Linked DNA regions of Homo sapiens: region 2 is linked to region 1. The links are contacts of gene promoters, found by promoter capture Hi-C in human tissues and cell types (Jung and others, 2019). All regions are on one chromosome and are shown on one strand. Each heading gives the region's core, a stretch centred on a gene start or on the middle of the fragment in contact. The rest is flanking DNA. Distances are from core to core; before and after follow the strand shown.

What was found. The method cuts DNA at HindIII sites, captures the fragments that hold promoters and counts their contacts. A contact is called where the count stands out against the background at its distance.
Region 2: a fragment that was not itself captured here is called in contact with the fragment with the promoter of MC3R in region 1 in 4 of the 25 tissues and cell types used here (aorta, mesenchymal stem cells, small bowel and 1 more).

What each region holds. Positions count from the first base shown.
Region 1 is chr20:56,247,375-56,251,296 of GRCh38, reverse strand. It overlaps MC3R (melanocortin 3 receptor), which reads right to left and starts at 2,565. Exons shown (of 1, transcript NM_019888.3): 1 at 1,482-2,565. The coding sequence starts at 2,453. The coding sequence ends at 1,482. RefSeq lists a silencer at 3,095-3,164. The HindIII fragment of the contact is 18,891 bases long and covers 1-3,922 here.
Region 2 is chr20:56,292,361-56,296,225 of GRCh38, reverse strand. No RefSeq gene overlaps it. Among named protein-coding and RNA genes, the nearest start is that of MC3R, 46 kb to the right of the region's middle. The HindIII fragment of the contact is 4,431 bases long and covers 1-3,517 here.

The DNA.
Region 1 (3,922 bases), core at 1,316-3,815:
TTCCAGGGTGTATTTCAATGTAACACACGTTTAGCAGCCATAAAAGCTTTTTATTATTTCCAAACATCATAACCAAAGCAAGAAAGGAATGGTTTTGCTTATATTAGCAGAAAATCTTCAAGTATTAAAGAACCCCAGTATATGCTAGTGCAAGATAAACACACAATTGCACCCCAAGACACAGCTTAATATAAGAATTTGTGACAGGGGGAGATATGGGGACAGCCAGAAAGCACAAATTGAAGTTATCTTGGGCAGAAAAGGATCTGACAATGCGAGCACTAGTCAGCCAGTCTCACCCTTTGCTCCCAGGAATGAATTCCTGTACTTGATAGGATATAGACATTGATAACAGGGTCACTCAACTTTAACACAATGCCAAGCAAAAAGGGAAAAGAACAAAAAAACTTTCTCTTTCATAGATAATATTGAAGAAGTCCTGTGATAGAGATGCAATTACTATAAGCAAAAACAAGGGCTCCCAAGAAAGTCACACAGTGGTTCTACGGTTTCTCAAACTATCTTAAGCTACAGTAAAGCAATTTCTTGTGATACACACACACACACACACACACACACACACACACACACACGTATATACATGTACCCCAACCCATGATTTCCTTTCTTGTTTTAAAGGCTAAAAGTAAATGATAGAAAAAAAGAAGTTATTTTAAAAAGATTAATCTATACCTTAAAATAGCAAGGTATCAAAATACACGTACACAAGTATATTCTGATTGTCCAAAGCACTTTCTCTCTTTCGTTAGAGTTTTGAAGGTTGTCTTAGATTTAATCCATAAAAACAAAACAACAACACACACCAACACAACAACAGAAAAATAGAAGTGGGTTACATCCTCATGCTACCTTTGGGGGTGGGGACAACTGAAGGGATATGGGGGTAAGAAAAGGGGAAAACGGCATAGCATTGCTCCTTTCACAAAGAGACAATTGTCTAACTGTAAATAGAATAATAGAGTAGAACTCAGTCTCCTACGGAGTTATAAGTGCAAAGCTATCTCTCCGTGTAGCTGGCAGCAGGAGGTCGTAGCTGTAACAGGTTTGCTTGCAAGAGATCTGAACCACCCTTATTGTTCATGAGAATCCTTCAGTCTGGTCTGGCCTGGAGCATGAAGACGTGGGTGTGGAGCAGATGAGCAGACAGGCGTCGCACACCCTGGGTGTTTGGAAATGAGTGCAGAGAGCATGCAGAGAAGCCTTCGCTGATTTCTCCCAGTGACTATTTGGGAAATCAGAGTTTGTGACTTACCCATCTTGGAATCCTTTCAGAGAATCTGTTGTTCACCAATTTTCCCCTTTAAAAGGCTTTGTAAACTTAAAAACAAACGACAAGTACAATCATGGCTGTTAACACATTTTTATATTTTCTAAGTATATATATTTTTCTTTCTAAACACCTCACGTGGATGGAAAGTCAAAAGTGACCCGACTGATGATCATTTCCATGGCCCTGCATCCTATCCCAAGTTCATGCCGTTGCAGCCACAGAGAATCTCCCTAAAGGTGTTGCGCAATTCCAGGCTCCGGAAAGCGTAGATGAGTGGGTCGATGACGGAGTTGCACATGATGAGGACCAGGTAGGTGTTGAAGTGGGCAGTGTAGCAGATGCAGTAGGGGTTGGTGGGGCAGGTGATGATGAGGACCAGGTGGAGGAAGAAGGGGGCCCAGCAGAAGATGAACACGCCCAGGAGAATGGTGATGGTGACTGCCCCCTTCATGCATGAGTGTTGCTGTGGGGCCACCCCGTCGGCAGGTGGCAGTGCTGCTATGCGCTTGACGTGCAGCCGCGCAAAGAGGAACATGTGCACGTAGAGGGTGCCCATGAGGAGCATCATGGCGAAGAACATGGTGATGAGGCACACAATGACCATTTTGCTCTCCGAGTAGACGATGAACACCACGCCACAGACGCCGCAGCAGACCCAGATGGCCACGATCAAGGTGAGGGCCTTCCTCACGGTCATGATGCTGTGGTAGCGGAGCGCGTAAAAGATGGTGACGTACCTGTCGACGGCGATGGCCAGGAGGTTGCAGATGGAGGCCACCAGGGAGATGCAGATCATGGAGTCGAAGATGTTGTCCATGTGCTGGATAAACTGGTCCTCGAAGGTCAGGTAGTCGCTGTGGACGATGGCGATCATGATGGTCTCCAGGGCATTGGACACACTTACCAGCATGTCGGCCACCGCCAGGCTGCAGAGAAAGAAGTACATCGGGGAGTGCAGGTTGCCGTTCCTGACCACGGCCAGGATAACCAGGATGTTTTCCAGCAGACTGACGATGCCCAGAGACAGGAAAACCTCGGGCTTGATGAAGACCTGCTCACAGAAGGCGCTGCTGCTCTGGTTGCTGAAGAAAGGGGCTTGGAGGTGCTCCGAGCCATTAGGCAGTGTTGGCTGAACAGAGGGCAGGCAGCACGAAGCATTCATTGCTGTCAGAAGGGCTGATCCGAGCTGGGGCTCCAGCAGGGTCCGTAGGAAGCTGCTGCTGCTCACAGGAAAGACAAAATCTCCCTCCAGATACGTCTTTTGGATGCTCATTCAATCTGGCCTTAGAGTTTATTCTCCTCTAGAATAAAAGGATGGGGAGGGTAGAGAGACAGATAGTGAGAGAGGGTGGAGGAAGAGACAGAGAGAGAGAGAGACATACACACAGAGAGAAAGAGCGAAGGGGGAAGAGAGAGAGAGAGGGAGAGTAGCTAGTTAGTAGCTAGCATGCAAGTTTGTAGCTTGGAGACATAGGGAGAACTTTGCTGTTCCAGGAGGAGCAGTTTTTATCTTGTTTACATAGAAAAAATACACCATAGGGTCTCTTACCAGCTGTCTTCCTTCTGTCTCCCTCTCACCCCTCTGTTTGTCTCTCCTCACTTCCCCACCTGGGAACAGAAAACCTGCCACCGGCTGCTACAGTTACAGCTCTTTTCATGGCAAGACAGGGGATGTGTTACTTGTCGCTAGAAGTGAAGGGAGAACACTCAGGTTTTTCATATTGGCCAAGGGCAAACAACTCCTACTTAATCTTCAGCGCAGCAGAATGACCACTGAGCATCGGGCACCTCTCTGACTGACAGCAGGTACCTGGCCCTGAGGATTCTGCAGGGAGATTAAGAAGCAGACTAGTGCCCTCTGCAGGCCGCACGGCTGTCTGCTTGCTGGCTTGGCTTAGCCCTTTGTGTTTGTCATGGAAACTGCCACAGGCATCCACTCATCTGTTCATTTGTTTGTTTATTTGTTAGTTCATTCATTTGTTGTTGTTGTTTAGCAAACATTTATTGAGCGCCTACTATGTGTCAGGTCTCTGCTGAGTGCAGGAAATACAGTGGTGAGCAAGACAACAGCCACTATCTCAGGCTTCCCCGAACTCAGAGTCTGGGGTGGAAGAAGAGGAATCAATAAATGCTTGAATCAGGAAAGTCCAGGAAACCAGGGATGCAAAGAGGAAGAGCCCTAACCCGGACTGTCAAAGTTCCTGGAGGAAGGAGCACCTATGCTTTGACTTCAAGGAGGAAGAGGTCATATCCAGTTTGGGGTGGGTGGTGGGGTGGGGGCTGGAGCTGGAGGAGGTAGAAGAGGACTCCAGGCAGAGGGAATCACACGTCTGCAGCCTGGAGGCAGAGAGCACCCTGGCCATAGAAGTCATCACAGATTGTGGATGTGGAGATCCCATTTGACCCGCGGAGTCAGAATCACCCAGGTGTAAGACCTGAACAAGTGTGTTTGCAATTTTTGACAGGTGAGCTGGGGCATAGTCACAGTTGAGCTCCACTGAAAAAGAATCTTGGGCTTTTGAAAGTGCTGAAAGTAGTCTGCTCTGGTCAGAGCATGGAAATAGGAGACACAATCTGAGAAATGAGGCTGCACAGTTTCTTAAAAAGTTGAGAGGTGCCTGAATCCTGAAG
Region 2 (3,865 bases), core at 53-2,552, 46 kb before region 1:
CTATGAGGCGATGAGAAGGAAGAAGAGTATGTACCACTGTCTTCCTGGAGGAAGTGACACAGGACCTGAGTCTTGAAAGCCCAGTAGGACTTAGCCAGCTCAAGGGATTCTGAGCAGAGTGAGCCACATAAGAAATTACGTAGGAGCATGACAGTTTGTGCCGTGTTTTGGAGATCAATGCAGTTCATTGTTATTGGAGTGAGGTTGGCAGTAGTGGAACATTAGGTGGATGAATAAATGTCACTATCTCCGTCCCCAAGCTGATGTGTGTTAAGTACTTTCTATTTATCCTTCAGGAATTGCTGTGCACTTTACCTGGATTTATCTCATGTAAGCCTTCCACAGCCTCTTGAGGTGCACACTATAGTTATCTCATTTTACTGATGAGGAAACAAGCTTGGGGAGGGGCTAAAATAATGTGTCCAAAGTCACTTAGCTAGGAGGTGGTAGATGCAGAGCTTATAAGGGCCTAGGGGAGACCTCAGAGGCTCTTTGCTAAATTTTGATTTTATGTTCAAAAGATTTTTCATCCATCCTCCCATTTCTGTTCTAAGATTGGACCATCCTCACCTTTTGTTCATGTTAGTGTCCATTCATCCCAAAACGATGCGAGCACAGTTAGTCCCAAACTTTGACTTGACAGCAAACCCATATATAGAATTTCAGAGGGAATGTCTGGAGTTTCTGTTTGGGTTGTTTGCCTTGCTTGGGATGAGATAAATCAAAGCAGGTGGCAGTGCCTGCATTCTGAATGTCCTGCGCTGACACAGGTAGGTTATTGCTGCTACCTGAGAGCAGTTGTGCTTGCCCACATGAGTGACGGCAGATCTGTGATACACCTCTTGGGTTCTGGGAAATAAGTGTGATCTCTTCCTGGCCGATCCTCGTGCCTCCACCCCGCATTTTGGTCTGAGGCCTTGATGGATTCAGTTTTGTTTCCAGTTCAGGAGCCTACGCATTTCCCCAGGATGCAGGGAAAATGTGTCATCTTCCCTCCCTTCTGGTAGCGGACCCTGTGTGTGAAGCTCTGCCCCCCCTGGAGGGTGGTATCATCAAAAGCTTAATGGTTAAAACACTTCATACTCAATAATCAATAATTAAACACATCAGAGGGAAAGTAGGCTTACAGATTAATGGGTAGTAGCTTAGAGAGGGTGGATGTATTAGTCTGTTCTCATGCTGCTGATAAAGACATACCCAAGACTGGGTAATTTATAAACTGGTAATTAATTGGCTCAGTTCCATATGGCTGGGAAAGTCTCACAATCATGGCGGAAGAGCAAGGGACATCTTACATGGCAGCAAACAAGAGAGAATTTGTGCAGGGGAACTGGCCTTTATAAAACCATCAGATCTTGTAAAACTTATTCACTATCATGTGAACGGCACAGGAAAGACCCTCCCCCATGATTCAACTATCTCCCACTGGGTCCCTCCCATGACATATGGGAATTATGGAAGCTACAATTCAAGATGAGATTTGGGTGGGGACACAGCCAAACAGTATCAGTGGGTTTTGTGAAGGAATTTTAGGCCATATTTGGCTTATTGTGCAAGAAAAGGGGAATAGGTTCACTTGTTTTAGGGTTCATTGGTTTTTTTTCCAGGAAGGGATTTTTATTACTTTTTTTTGAGGCTCTGTGACCTCAGAACAAGGCGAATAGGTTGCAAGTTAATACTTGAAAAATCAGAGTTAAAACTAAAAGGAAAAATGATCCTACTTGAGCCTTGTAAAAATTCTGTAACTTAGATACAGTAGGTGCGTGGCCTTGTCTCTGTTTTACAGAAGCAGAAAACTGTGACCCCAAGAAGCTTAGCAAGTGCTCATGGTGCACATGTAATAACCAGCAGATGTGAGATTTCAACTCAGATCATATATGGGTTCCAAGAGGGTGGATCAAGAGGCATTAGAGTCAGGGCTCAATTTGATTCCATATTTTGGAGAAAGCGGACACGGCAAAGCATATGACTCTTTGCTTCAAGTCTAGTTGAAGAGACAATGCTGCTGGAAGGAAATTCAACAAATACGTCAGCCAAATAATTCCTGAATCCAGAGCATGTCCCAAGGAGGGGACTGGTGACTAAGTGAATGGCACAGTTTTTTACTTGCAAATCACCCCAAGCTTATTTAGAAAAGCTATGCTTAGTCAGGGGGCTATAACAAAATACCTAGACTGGGTGGCTTAGAAACAACAGAAATTTACTTCTCCCTGTTCTGGAGTCTGGGAGTCTGAGATCAGGGAGTCAGCATGGTCAGGTTCTGATGAGGACCCTCTTCCAGGTTGCAGACCCCAGTCTTCTCATTGGAAGGAGGGCTAGAGAGCTCTCTGGAGTCTCTTTTATAAGGATACTAATCTCATTCATGGGGGCTTCACTCTCACAACCTAATTGTCTCCCCAAAGACTTACCTCCTAATACCATCACATTGGGGATTAGGATTTCAACATATGGATTTTGGGGAACACAAACATTTAGTTCATAACACATGAATTCCCTCTACCTTTTTTTTTTTTTTAATTTTGAGACAAGGTCTGGGCTCTGTCACCCAGGCTGGAGTACAGTGGTGCTATCTTGGCTCACTGCTACCTCTGCCTCCCAGGCTCAGGTCATCCTCCCACCTCAGCCTCTCGAGCATCTGGGAATGTAGGTGTGTGCCACCACACCCAGCTAGTTTTTATATTTTTTGTAAAGATGAGGTTTCACCATATTATCCAGGTTGGTCTTGAACTTCTGAGTTCGAGTGATTTTCCCGCCTCAGCCTCTGAAGTACTGGGATTATAGGCATGAGCCACCAAACCTGGCCCCCCGTTTACCCGTTTTGAGGTTGACATTCAAAACTTTCATTTGTAAGTTCAAATCCTTGCAAAAAATATTACTTCTGGCATATTATAAATATTGACATTTTAAAATAAAAAAGTTGTATGTTTAAATAGATCCAATGAGTTCAAACCCATCATTATTCATTTAAAAATGTATAAAAACTTATTTAAAATTTTACATGGTCTCTTTTTTCTTTGAAGTTACTATTTAAAAAATTTCCATACAGAGTCTTACTCTAATGAAATTTATATTTCTGCTTCAAAGACTTTTATTGATCATTCTGTTATGATTCTCTACAAGCAAACATATACATACACACACACACACACACACACACACACACACATTGGAGATGGTATATATTTTTTCTAGCACTGTCAGATTTTTAGTGCCTAAAGAAATTCTTCTAGGTTGGATTTGAAATTCATTTGTTATTAATATAATTGAGCCACATAACACAAATTCATTAACAATATGAGAATTTTTTTTTTTTTTGAGATGGTGTCTTGCTCTGTCACCCAGGCTGGAGTGCAGCGGTGCGATCTCGGCTCACTGCAGCTTCTGACTCCCAGGTTCAAGCGATTCTCTGCCTCAGCCTCCCAAGTAGCTGGAATTACAGGCGTGCACCACCACACCGAGCTAATTTTTGTATTTTTAGTAGAGACCGGGTTTCACCATGTTGGCCAGGCTGGTCTCGAACTCCTGGCCTCAAGTGATCCACCCGCCTCGGCCTCCCAAAGTGCTGGGATTACAGGAGTGAGCCACCACGCCTGGCTGAGAAATAATTATTAAGCATAAATGTAACATTTTATTAGACTACATTGCTTAATAAGATGGATAGAGCTTCTTAAAAAAGGCTGTTTAAAAGGAGGAAATTACTTATTGTTCTAATGATACAGGGATCAGCATTAATTCTGTTCTTACTATGCATTTTTATAGATGTAAATGCTGAGAAATCTTGTTCACACATGAATAAATTGATAGACTTGAAAATAATTTTGTTACAGCAATGCCACTCAATGATTTAAGCTCCTCCTGAGCTATA